3 separate regions of the Homo sapiens genome follow, and all the other regions are linked to region 1. The links are contacts of gene promoters, found by promoter capture Hi-C in human tissues and cell types (Jung and others, 2019). All regions are on one chromosome and are shown on one strand. Each heading gives the region's core, a stretch centred on a gene start or on the middle of the fragment in contact. The rest is flanking DNA. Distances are from core to core; before and after follow the strand shown. Region 1 holds the start of PCDH10 (protocadherin 10). Region 2 overlaps PCDH10 (protocadherin 10). Region 3 overlaps PCDH10-DT (PCDH10 divergent transcript).

Region 1 (4,502 bases), core at 1,964-4,463:
AGCATGATGTCTGACTTGCTGAGTTTCTTCTTGCGCGCCCGGGCTTGGCGGCCACAGCAGGTCGAACCTCCGCCACCGCAGCAGCAGCAGCAGAGGCAGCAATCGCTGGCCAGACAAGTATAGATGTTGAGCTTCTTCTCTTTTTGGCAACGCACGGCCAGCACGATCATGGCCAGCAGGAAGATGAAGGACACCGAGCCCAACGCGATGATGAGGATGAGGGTGAGGTCTAGCGAGGTTTCCCCGCCGCCAGAGCGACTGGGGCGCTGGTGCTCTCCTGACCCTCCGCCTCCGCTCCCGCCCCCGCCCTGGGGCTCCACGGCGCCATCCACCAGCTGAACCACCAGGGTGGCGGTGGAGGAAAGGGGCGGCTGCCCATGGTCGCGCACCTCGATCACCAGCTCATAAGGCCGCTGGGGGTCGCGCTTGGCCGGGACTCGGCGTGCTGTGCGCAGCTCCCCGGTGCGCCAGTCCATGCGAAAGAGGTTCATTTCGTTGCCACGCACGATGCTGTAAGTGAGCCGGGCGTTCTCGCCGTCGTCCGCGTCCACGGCGGCCACGCGGGTGAGCAGGTAACCCGGCTCCGCCGAGCGGGGCAGCACCTCACGCGCTGGAGTCCCGTTGCGCCCTGGTAGAGGCGCCACGATGGCAGGGGCGTTGTCATTTTGATCCACTATGAGGATGTTGACAGTGGCGTTACCAGCCAGCGCCTGGGGGCTGCCAGCGTCCCGGGCTTCCACCTGAAAACTGAAGTCCTTCAGCTGCTCATAGTCGAAGGAGCGCAGGGCGTACAAGTAGCCGTTCTCAGAGTTGATAGAAACGTAGGTGAAGACGCTCATGCCCTGGATCTGGCACTCGAGGATAGAGTAGGCAAGCTGGGCGTTGGCGCCCTCATCCCGGTCGGTGGCGCTCACCGCGTAGATGTAGGCGCCAGGCACGTTGTTTTCAGTCACATACACGTCGTAGACCGGCTGGCTGAAACGCGGCGCGTTGTCGTTCACATCCGACACTTGTACCTGGATCGACTTACTGGTGGAGAGCGCAGGCTCGCCCCGGTCCCGAGCCACTACAGTCAGGGTGTAGGAGTCCCCCGCCTCTCGGTCCAGGGGGGCTTCGGTAACGATGGTGTAGTAATTCTTAAAGGAAGACTTGAGGCGGAAAGGCACGTCTCCCAGTAGCTCGCACTGCACCTGCCCATTCTCCTCTGAGTCGCGGTCAGTCACGCTGAAAAGGGCCACCACAGTGCCGGGCGCCGCGCCCTCACTCACCGCTTCCTTCACGGTGCTGAAGCTGATCTCTGGCGCGTTGTCATTAGCATCCAGTACTCGCACTAGCACCTTGCAGTGCGCAGGCACGGCGTTGGGGCCCAGGTCCTTGGCTTGCACGTACACTTGGTACACTGGGCTCTCTTCATAGTCCAACTCGCCGCTTACCTCCAGTCTGCCAGTGCGCGGCGAGAGTCCGAAAAGCTCCCGCGCCCGGGGCGAAATGTGGCTGCTGAAGGAGTACACGACCTCACCGTTCTGGCCCTCGTCCGGGTCGGTGGCGTTGAGCTGGATCACGAGAGTGCCTGGGGGAGAGTTCTCTGGTAGGGACACAGTGTAGACGGGTTGGTCGAAAGCGGGCACATTGTCATTGGAGTCCAGCACTCGGATGGTGAGTAGGGCCGTGCCGGTGCGCTGCTGCTGGGGGGGCAGGCCTGCTCCCCCGCCACCTCCCCCTCCTTCTCCTACTCCTCCCCCACCTCCTCCGTCCACCGCGGTCAGCACGTAGCGGTGCACCGCTTGCTGCTCTCGGTCCAGTGGCTTCTCCAGCACCAGCTCAGCGAATCGGTTGCCATCCCCCTGGGTCTGCACGTCCAGGGAGAAGTAGCTGTTGGGGGTGATCTCGTAGTCGCGCAAGGAGTTGGTGCCCACGTCTGGGTCGAATGCGCTCTCCAAGGGGAAGCGAGTGCCTGGCGTGGCGCTCTCAGAGATTTCCACCGTCAGGTCTGGCTCCGGGAAAGAGGGGGGGTTGTCATTAATGTCCAGCACCTCGATCTCCACCTGGAACAGCTCCAGGGGGTTCTCCAGAAAGACCTCCAGGTGCAGGACACAGGAGGGGCTCTGTTTGCAGATTTGTTCGCGGTCTATTTTCTCGTTCACGTACAGCACCCCTGTCTCCAGGTTGAGGTCTAAGTAAGGGGTCCTTGAGTTGGGCACCGTCTGAAACCCGCGAGCCGAAAGTTTTGTAATGTCCAGACCCAGATCTTCAGCGATATTCCCCACGAAAGTGCCATGTTCCTGCTCCTCCTGTACCGTGTAGTGAAGCTGGGAAAAGACTCCTTCCACCATCCAGAGCAAGGCAAACAATAATAGCACAATCATCTCCAAAAGGAAAGGAAGTAGCTTCCCGCAGCCAGTCAGCCACCCAATCACCTCCCCCACCACCACGAAACAAAAAAAAATCTGAAAAAATACAAATAAAAGTGCGCTACGTGGGGGCTCCTGTGGCTTTCTGTCTTTAAAAATCTTACTCCTTTTGCTTCATTTTAGAGCTTCCCGCAATCCAGCCTCATTTTTTTTTAAATCTTAGCACAGGAAGGGTGACAGGCGTCCCCTTTCCTCATCTGTAATCTTTCCACTGACTAATTAATAAAATAACAATAATACAATAGTCAGCGTCCTTTATTCCGACAGTCTTGGCGCTGGCAAATCCCAAAGAGGAAATTTCGATATTTCAAGACTGTCCTCGGTTTGTCTTCTTGCTGATGGGAGGAGAACGAGGAGGAGGAAAAAGAGGAGGAGGAGGAGGAAGAAGAAGAAGAGGAAGAGGAGAAGGAAAAGGAGATGCTGTTGGCACCGTTAAACATGCCTCTTAATGTCAACGGCTGGCAAATGCAAAAGGGCTTAAAATCAGCGATATAATTTTGTGCCGGAAAAGCACAGAACGGCTCTGCAGCTTAAAACTTTCATTCTCTTCATTTCTCCGGATGGATGTTCTTCTTGACATTTTTTTCCTCTTTCGCTCTATTTGTATTTTTTGTCTTTCAGAGTCTTGGTTCCCTCTGTCCTCATCTCCACCGTTACTTGCCTCTCTGTAAGTGTAATGAGCAGTTTCTTTTCTGCTGTTTTCTTCCCAAGCCTCTTTCCCTCTAACCTGTCTCTTTTTCCTTCCAGTCCTTCCTTCCTCCTGCTTCAGCCTCTGAGCCTGTGGTCTGGGCTGGCAGTTTCTGAGCTCCGAGCGCTCGGCTTCTCCGTTTTTGCGCAGCGCCCTCATTCTGCCAACCAATCGCCCAGGAGCACCACCCACCGAGCTGCCGATGATTGGCCAAACTGGCCGCCAAACAGACACGTCACGCGGCAGCCGGGCGGGGCGGGACAGAACTCTCGCCCGAGCGGCCGGGGTGAGTGTGAGTGTGAGAGCGAGAACAGCCCCGCAGGTCCCGAGGCGCTGGCTGGGGACAATGCCGCGGAAAGTTCCCAGTCCCCAGCCGCAGGTAATGGGGAGGGAATAGAGAGGTTCCCCTGTTTGCATCAGCAAATGCGAAAACATAATAGCAACAGCTGCGATATCCTCTCCTAGGAGCGGGATTTCCAATGATGCTAACATTCTTTTTCCTTTAAGGTATTTTCCCTAATACGCATCATGGAAATAAATCATCGAGAAGGGAAAAAGTAGCGCAGGGCCCACTAATTGGCAAGGGTTACCTAATTAAGGGACCCTAGCAGAGACTGGCAGGGCATTTTAAAAGTGAGTATTATATGGCATGTGTCAATCTAAAGGTGAGGGGGTCTGACGGGGCCGTGAGGAAAGGCGCGAAGCATACGGAGTAGGGGGTGGAGGTGACTCCTAAAAAGCGGAGGAATTCACGCTAAAGGATGTGGGGATGACAGCGCTTACAGACGGGCAGACGCGTTCGACGTGCTTCTTTCCTCCCAAAATACATATTCACAAAATACTTACCAAGTAGATTAACTCACTCGAGGACCTAGCTTCGAGCCGTGAGCGCGTTCATCAGTGACTGAGGAGTTGATTTGAGCCGCTTCCTACAAGCCCGCCATCCTAACGCCGGGCTCTGGGGCATCCGGCACACAGCACCGCCAAGCGCTGCAAAGCGCCTCTGATATCCCTGCGCCTTGTGCGGCCAAGTGCCACGCAGCGGCTGGGAACACCGGCTATTTTCTATTTTTTTTTTGGCAATTGGAGATCGATCCCTTTACCCACCATGCTAGATTAGACCACTGATTTCTGCCAATCCTGGGGTCAGCCCGCGGGATGAGGACAGTGGGGCGGCGGCGAACGCGGGCGGGGTGGTGGGCAGGGCCCGTGCACACGAGGGGCCCGAGTGTGCACCGCTGCGGGTATCTGCGAACACGTTTGCACATGCACGGTACTTGCATCCATCCTCCCTGGCCCAGGGCTTAGCTCTGTGTAAGCCCCAACGGAGCCTCCCCGAGTTCCGAAGGACGCGCTTGACCAGCTGTGAGTGCCCCTTCCGGAGGCGCAGGGGCAACGCGGCA
Region 2 (4,502 bases), core at 1,287-3,786, 43 kb before region 1:
CCTAGCATATGCTGCTTCAAATGAGACTCAGTTTTGAACAGATGTCCCCTTAGACCTGTTATATTAAGACTAAAATTACTAAATCAGCATTAGATGTTTTTAAACTTAGAGCCATATTTGCCACTGATTTTTATTCAAAGCTCCCACAGGCGTCAGTGGAAGATCCATGCATGGAAAAATGGCATAATATGTATCCTAGTTTTATTTATTTCATATGTATACAGCAGTATAAAATAATTTATTACATTTACACTCATTTTACTTATGTATTATTATAGCATTCACAGTAACAAACACTGTAGTTAAGATTGAAACTCATCTTTTGTTATAATACCCTGTTTTCACTCACAGATAACTGTCTCAAAAATGTGTTTAGAGCTGAAATTCCCTGCTTACTTTCAGCTCTAGCATGTATGAATGTATTGGAAGTCTGAGTTCCATCATTCAGAAATTTTTGAGTCTCATGTGAAATTTAGTATTTTTTGAATGATGAATGCAAGATTTTTATGCAACTCAAAAACATCTGGAGAGTAAAACTTCAAACTAAGCATGTGACAACTTTTCAAGAAATAAAAGCAATTTTTCTAATTTTACAAATACTTAAAAAATAACAGTGATTAGAAATACACGCATGCACACTAAAAGTATTAGAATTTTAGTCGTATTATTGCCTGCAATACTCTGGCGGCACCCATCTACCTGCATTCATACAGAATGCTATAATCTAAAACCTATGCCAAGATTTGAAGAAAAGAATACTCTACTGAACAGTTTCACAAATTACTGTATAAGGATTTTGTCTGACTTAGCAGAGGGATGTTTGTTGAAGTACTAACAATATATAAAATAATTTTACTACTCCATGGTGTAAAAAATATGGAATTCCATTATTTTCTGTTTTTCCTTGTTAAAAAGGAACACAAAAGGATGTTAAGTGCAAAGCCTTTACCACTACAAAATTAGACTTGAAAAAGATAAAGAACTCAAGAATTTGTAATATGAAAAATATAAGATTTTCAGAAAAATCATCAAGTATACCAATATTTTAAGTATTTTTGAGTTCCTTGGGTATCAATAGCACACATAGAAACATGAGGGGGAAAAACACATGCAATGACAAATAACAGTGCTATGATCAGTCAATAACTTAAATACTTTTCTTGATCTTGCTGAACTTTTGCCACACTCTGCCTGAGTAATTGTTTTAAAGACTAACTGAGCTCCAGTAAATAATGTTTAGAAGGTAAAATGGTACAATTAACGTACAGTTGTTAAAGATTATATTGGGAATTGTGAGATTCTTTTTCCTCCTCTTATTGAAGAAGCAAGATAGCTTCTATAATACAGAGAATCTGATGGCAAATTACAATCCAATTAACAAATAAAACAATGAGAAATTAAAATATTTAAATATTCTACTATAGTTCTTAATTTGCAATGTTTGATAAAGGCAGTGCATTTAATATCTTTAAAAAATAAAATACACATATTTCCTTAATATTTGCCAAGAAAAGATGATACATATATCATTGACGCTATTATATCTGTGAAGTAATTCTGATGTGATATTTAAATTTGATTTAAGATGATTTCACCAAACTATGTTCACACGTTAAAAATTAGAATTCTACATGTGGATGAAATATTTTCTAAAAATTGTCTTTTGACATACCTTTGAAACATTAAGACACTGTTTCCACAGGAAATTTTTTTTGACTTTGACTGCTCTAAAACTAACCATGTTAACAAGGAGTAAATGACATGATTTTTTTTTCTGAAATAATTTATTGACGAAATACTGTCTAATACGATGGATATTATTCTTTGATGTATATAAAATTATGTAAGATTGGATATTAGAATGACCAGATTAAAGAGAAAACCTATCCTAAAATTCCTTGATATATTAATCTAGTAAATGCTTAATTAGAAACCTTCATTATTTGTTGGTTGCACTTTCCATTTTATAGTCCCCCTCATTGGAAGAAAACATTTTAACCAACTTACAAGAATCATATCCTTACTCTGTTGTAACTTCTAATTTACTTTGGATGCAACAGATAAGTTGATTAATGACCTAATAATGTAGCATTTTATCCTTAAACAATTCTATTTGTCCCGCAAATTAGGAAGAAGTTCTGGTTTTGGTTTTGTAGATTGATGATAACTAAAATGTAAGTTAGTATAACTAGTTCCTAGGATATATGAAAATAACTAATACACAAATATATAATAAAAAAGTTGGTTCAAAGGAGATTATATACAATGATATAAAAGGTTAAATAATTAAAGAAAATGTCTTTGAGGTAAATGACAATATAATTACTATACATGAAGTGAGTATAATCTTATTTTCAATGCATGCAGTAAGGAAGATGGATGTGGATATTCACCCATGATTGCAAAATGATGCGTGAAACATTTTAATTAAAGCAGAGTGACTCAACAAGAAAATCATTTTCTTGCTAAAAAAAAGAGTTGGAACAAACAGACTTTTTTCCAGTTAAATTATGTATAAACATTTCCTTACTAAAATAGTCTATCATTCAAAATATTAATGTAGTAATGCCAAAGTTTAAGAAAATGTTACTGCTGCACTTAGTGAATTTATGTGCTTTTTGTATTACATATGATCTGTTAGCTTCATATATGTTTAAAGAGACTTCAAAAGGCTGGAACATTACATACATTATTTTGATATATGAACTGATTGGAATATGATATATTAATATCTAATTTGATAACAGTCAAATGAGTGATACCAATATATCACTCTAAATGTACATATCAGGACCTAAGTGTGTGTGTGTGTGTGTGTGTGTGTGTGTGTATATATATGTATTTTAAAGTTAAATCTAGGGAAAAATTTCCACTTAAGTTACATAAAATTTGATGAAGAACATTTGTCAAATGTTAAGTTTTAGTCTATTCTTTAATAACACAGTGCAGCTCAAACTGTCATTGAATATAAGATCAGTTAAAAATTAAGGAAAGTATTTCAAAACAGGTTTCTAATTTGAACTGGGCAAACATTTTGATATAATGTTGAAGCTTTGATATGATGTTTTGATATCATAGTTTAGAGGGCGAGGGGAGCTGTGACAATTCTGTTTTTTGCTTGAAAGATTATCTTATATTCTCTGATTTTTTTCCTCTCTCGAATGTGTTCTAACAAGGCATACACAACAGTAGAAAAAATATATAAAAGAAAGGAAAGTGCGTCTTACTAAATTTAATAATTAATATTGTTGACATAAAAGTAAAAGGCAAGCTTAACTTTTGAAGGCTGACTCATGAAGAATTTTTTCATTAATCAAACACTGACTACATTTAAGCTATAAAATTTTCACATGGAATACTGAAACAATAATGTACCATGATTCTATCTCTAAATTTATTTTAAATTTAGAGCTTTCATATTTTATAGTTATTCTTTACCAGTTCAGATGTTTCTATATCTCTATATATTCATATAGAATTATAGATTTTATATTCATGTGTAATTAAGTCACAAAACTATGTAAAATAAAATTCTGTGTGAGTGATATGACTGATGACTTCTTAAAATAGTAATCTTCAATTACATATTTTACACCACAAAATGTACAGACACCCAGTTTTTTTCTAACAACAAATACAGGTGAATTTATCGATTCTTTATAAAAGCTTTAAGTGATTCTAAATTCAAAGTCATAGAAATAGAATCAGACTTATGCAGATTGTTAGATAGTTTGATAGTACATAGTCAGTGCTCTGTCTGATAACATCAATAGCTACATCTTTGGCATTGAAAATTCAATATGAGTTTTTGACAAAATTTTGTAGCTTAGAGCATCATTTTCTTTTAAACAAGGAAAAACACGGTTGAGTAAGATATGGAAATTGGGAGAAAACTATTAATGATTTTTTCTTAGTAAGTTTGTCTTTGGGACCCTGAATTACCTTTTATTTTATTGTATGATGTGGACTGTATGCATCCATTTAAAAACCAACTGAGTTGTACCACATTTTAGGAAAATTATATAATATAATATATATATTTTATATTTATTTAGAAGCTTTGAAATAGTACAGTAAACACTTTGCAACACGGTGTATAAACTACAGAATGTCTTTGATATTTTGTGGGTCTTCAGAATACAACATTTTTTATAACCCACAGGTGAAAAGAACATAATCACAATTTCTCTTGTAAAGTTGGAATAGCTTGCGGAACACTTGATCACACAAAAATAATATAAAACAGTCAAGTTTAAAACAGTGATATTGCATTTATAATGCACAAATTTCCTTTATCTTTATGACTGGCTTCTCGTGGTGAATATAAACATCTAAAGGGCTCAGTGACATTTGGAGAGAGAAAGATAGATAGTGCTGTAAACAGGCACACACTGATCGGGGAGGCAAAATCTGTTGCCTCTAAAGTTTCTACAGTTCTGCACATTTCAACTCATTTCTCAGGCCTGCTGAGAGCAATTAGGTCCTATAATTGGCCATGATGA
Region 3 (4,502 bases), core at 1,383-3,882, 36 kb after region 1:
CCTGATTAGTTTAATGTTTGTGCCTTAATTGTAGTATATCCTTAAGGAAATTGAGTATCGGTAGACTATTTATTGCAGTTGAAGATATAGCAAAAGAAATAAGTTTCTAGGAGGGAAATACCTACAAGTGAATGATAATACAGTGTTAGTGTAAAACAGTCTTTCACTAAAGAATATATATACCATTATTTACTCAAAAAATATTCAGCAACAATTTTACCCACAGGTGAAATGCACTGGAGTGTCCTAATTTTGTATCATGTGTCCATTCTGCCATTCTCAGGCTAATGGCACTCTTCACGACAAGCCTGATTGCACTGTTAAGCTCCAGAGGAAAAAATGTGGCTATAGAGTATATTAAAATACATACAATTGAAAAGGAAGATGTTCATTTTTGCAAGCAGAAGATTACCAACAGAATGCTAAAATTAAAGGTCAGTTTTAGAATGAGCTCTCATATTATGGAGTTTACGAACAAACTATGTATTATATAAGAAAAGAAAAAACAATTTTATACCGAAGTAGTGCTTTCAAAAAAGTATTTTAGTTTTCTTATAGAAAAGTAGAAAAATGAAAAATACATGAACCCTTTCTTAACCCTAATCTATGTTTTTTAAGAATTTTTAAAATGTTTCCTGTGTGAACTAAAGAGGCAAGAAAGTGAAAAGTGTTTTTTAAAAATGGAGACACTATGGGAAAATATAGGCAAATGAAGGAGTACAAATAGAAAATGTAATTTTATTGAATAACAGAAAAGAAAATAGTGCAAAACAGCCTCTCTATTCTTTTGTTCTTGGTATCAAAGCTTTTATTCCTGGTGATTGGTGGAATCCTTTTGGTTACTAAGCTCCCTTGAACAAAATCTAAAATCATATTAACTCAAATTCTGTGCTATTACAAACCATCTCATCTCATAACAGGACTTTAGTATATTTTTCTTAATATCAAAGAAATTATATGGGCTAAATAATTCTCAAAGCACCACATAAAGTTTAGGTATTTCTTTAGAAGAAACAAAATATATGTTCTTTTTCACATTTGTGTTTGATTTTATTATAAAATTTGACAGAAGAAACCAAGGAAATGGAAAAGAGAAACCTCTAGAGACTTTGTATTTTCTTAGCTGACAAAAAAGCTTCAGTTTTAGCAATTTTTCTTTCTCTATTTCCTTTTTATAAGGTCTGACTGAAACCAGACAAGAAAAGAATATTACGTTCTGTTTTTGGCTTTTTAGGTTTTTTTTTTTCAGCTAAAAGAAAGATTTGAAGTGCCTTTACAAGGTTATTTCCAAGGTAATTTTTCTTTTATTTTTAAATAACAAATTTTTTGAGATTCAAAATCAACATCCAGTCCATACGCCACTGAATATAAAGTTCCCAGTGGTGAAATACGCACGAAGTTAGCCTTGCCAGACTGTGACTGACAAATGTGGGGATAAGGAAAGGAAAGATTTGAAATATAAAAATTCCAAGACTAAGCTTTGGGCTTTGGTTTTTGGTGATGAGAGTTAGAGGCACAAGAGAAATCAGTTGTATTACAACTGTAAACAACACACACCTTGCTTTGCTTTTGTGTCTGCCTACATGCTTATAGTCCTAAAGATTTATGGGAAGTGCAGAAAGAAGAATGCAAGGCCTCTTTTAATATAATCAATCCTATTGCCGTCACAGAAGAAAGTATGTTACCTGTGATAGCAGCTTAACGTCACAAAGTTTCCATCTTAACAGTACAATCCACAGCTTGTATTGCTCTAAGGAGCCATTTGGATAGTTAATATGGAGGGTGCAGAAGTAAAGAATGTAATAATGCTATAATTGTTCTAGTGAATACTATGCTTAAGTGATGCTCAAATTAAGATGTTTGACCAACAGAACTCTTTCTTGAATTCCAGGTAGCCATGATCTTTGCACATACTTTTAATTTAAAAAAAAAGATTTTTAAATTTTAAATATTATGTTATCCAGCAACTCAGATCTCCTTGAGGTTACCAATAGACATGATTCATTTGCTGTTGCTGTTCTTTTCTATATCACACCATATGACATTTCTTTGAAAAGTCATAATCTTTTCATTTCAGCGTTAGCAAAACCATCAAATTTAAATCATTGATAGTAATCCTTAAAAGGTTTTGAGATGATAATGACTCTATCTGTGAAGTATCTAGTCATTTAGTTCATTTCAAATACCAATTATCATTTTGATTTACTTGAGAATAATGAATGTAAGAAGCTTTGTGGTAATTTTTATGTGGGTGGAAAAATATAGCATGCACTCATGAATGTCTTGGTATTTGTTTCAGATAGATTTTTTTATTACAGCACATGGTAAAAATTATGCCACAAACTATAAATAAATTAATTATCATAGATAATGCTCCCATACATAACATTAGGTACTTTAAGTAGCTAGGATCAAGGAGGCAGCAATGCCCTGACTTTTTTTTCTGAAAGCGAGACAGTTACCTGCATTTATCTGGTTTCTGATTTTTTGAATTCCCCCAGAAAGTGGGAAGAATTTCCTTCCTTTAGAATCTTGAAATCTGTGTATATAACCCTAACTAATATAGTTTAGTTTTGCCCTGTTTTGAACTTTATATAACCAAATTTTGTGGTATGCAGTATCCTATGGTGTTATCTTCACTGAATAACATGTTTATATAAAATTCACCCATGTTGTTGGTTGTAGCTTTTGATTTTCCCCTTTATGCTGCATAGTATTCCATTATATGCTTATACAACAATTTATTAATCCATTTGATTGTGTATTTGGTTGTTTGGTGGGAGGTATAATAGTGCTGCTATGATCAATCCTATATATTTTCTATAATACATGCACAAACATTACTGTATGTATGAAGCGGAAGTGGTGACTCGAATGTATGCATTCAAAAGTTATTACAGCAATATATGCTTTTGTCTGCAGTTTTAATGATTCTGGGTGCTACATACAGTAAGAATCAACTGATGTTTTCAGGCTTTATGATTGTTGCAAACTGGTGGCTGTTTAGTGGTATTGTGATTTTAATTTGGAATTCCTTGCTTACTAATAACCTTGAACACCATTTGGGTTTATAGGGTATTTAAATTTTCTCTTTTTGTAGTTTCTCTTCAAGTCTTTTGACCATTTAAAAACATTGTTTGCTGTGGTTTTTTGATTGATTTTTTTTGAGTTCCTTTCATATTCCACTTTTAAATCCTTTGTCAGTGTTATGTGTTGCAATTATCTTTTTCTGTGCTGTGACATCCTTTTACTTTCTTCATCTTTTTTTGATGAACAGTTTAAAGAAAAAAAGAAACTTACTCACTTTAAAGTACTTTTGGTGTTTTGTTTATTTTTTTCCCCAAGATTATAAAGATACTATCCTGTTTTACTATGTTATTCTCTTAAGCCTTCGCAGAGTTTTTTATTTGCTTGCTTTTGCTTTTTAATTATTTTTTGACATATACGTCTATAATCTACCTGGTGTTATTTTTGCCTAGTGTGATTGGTTTGGTCCTGTTTAATTTTTTTCATGTAGATACCTAATTATCCCATTTCTTGAGAAGTCTGATATTTCCATACAATTCTTTTCTGACAAATCTACATTGCTTCTTTCTCATAAGTAAAATATCTATAATGCATGGGTCTGGGTTCAAGCTCTCCATTCTGTTTCCTTGTTCCATTGTCTGCCTTTGTGTCAGTACCAAACTGTCCTAATTATTGTGGCTTTATAGCAAGCCTAAATATCTTATAGAGTATTTGCTTCAATCCTGTGATTATTTTAAAAGATCTTGACCATTGATTTCCACATAAATATTTGAATTAACTGGTCAAATTCCACACATACACCCTACTAAAAGTTTGGTTTATGATTACATTAAATTAGTCTACAAATTAGGAGGAGATTCAGATCTCTGCAGTACTGATTTTTCCAATCCATGTAATACTATGTATCTGGATTTATTTAATTCTTTAAAATTCATCAATAATTTTTTTTTAATCTTGCACATCATTTATGTATTCATTACTGAGAACTTGATAATATTTTATTAATAACATGCAAAATGATTTTCATTGATTTATTATTGGTACGTGTGCTACAGCATTGCTAAATTCTTGCTAATTCAAATAATTTAACTATTCCTTACTGGGTATTTTATTGAAATATAGTCTTATTATTTTTCTTAAAATTTGTATAAATTTTTATTTTCTCCTCTTGCCTTACTACACTGATGGCAGATTCCAGCACAGTGTTCATTGAAATCCATATTTTCTGGTTCCCAATCTTGTCACCAATCTCAAAAGGAAAACTTTCAAAATTAAATATATTTTTGTAAAGCTCTTTAGATCTTCTAAGTCTAAGGAATTTCTCCATTAGAGTCTGCTTACATTTTTATAATGAGTACTACAATGTTTTGTCTGTCTGTATTGAGAATTCCATGTGATTTTTAAAATATCTTAAGATGGCAGAATACAAATATAGATTTACCAATATTGAGACAACTTTTCTTTATTGGTATAAA

Evidence for each region. The method cuts DNA at HindIII sites, captures the fragments that hold promoters and counts their contacts. A contact is called where the count stands out against the background at its distance.
Region 2: a contact is called between a fragment that was not itself captured here and the fragment with the promoter of PCDH10 in region 1, in 2 of the 25 tissues and cell types used here (hippocampus and pancreas).
Region 3: a fragment that was not itself captured here is called in contact with the fragment with the promoter of PCDH10 in region 1 in 2 of the 25 tissues and cell types used here (hippocampus and psoas muscle).

Annotation. Positions count from the first base shown.
Region 1 is chr4:133,148,005-133,152,506 of GRCh38, reverse strand. PCDH10 (protocadherin 10) reads right to left here and starts at 3,213. Exons shown (of 5, transcript NM_032961.3): 1 at 1-3,213. The coding sequence starts at 2,366. PCDH10-DT (PCDH10 divergent transcript) reads left to right here and starts at 3,391. Exons shown (of 9, transcript NR_125885.1): 1 at 3,391-3,478. RefSeq lists a silencer at 3,160-3,299 and an enhancer at 3,410-3,469. The HindIII fragment of the contact is 10,822 bases long and covers 1-4,502 here.
Region 2 is chr4:133,190,293-133,194,794 of GRCh38, reverse strand. PCDH10 (protocadherin 10) reads right to left here. Exons shown (of 5, transcript NM_032961.3): 5 at 95-4,502. Among named protein-coding and RNA genes, the nearest start is that of PCDH10, 43 kb to the right of the region's middle. The HindIII fragment of the contact is 6,018 bases long and covers 1-4,502 here.
Region 3 is chr4:133,111,428-133,115,929 of GRCh38, reverse strand. All of the region lies in intron 7 of PCDH10-DT (PCDH10 divergent transcript), which reads left to right. Among named protein-coding and RNA genes, the nearest start is that of PCDH10-DT, 35 kb to the left of the region's middle. The HindIII fragment of the contact is 3,323 bases long and covers 971-4,293 here.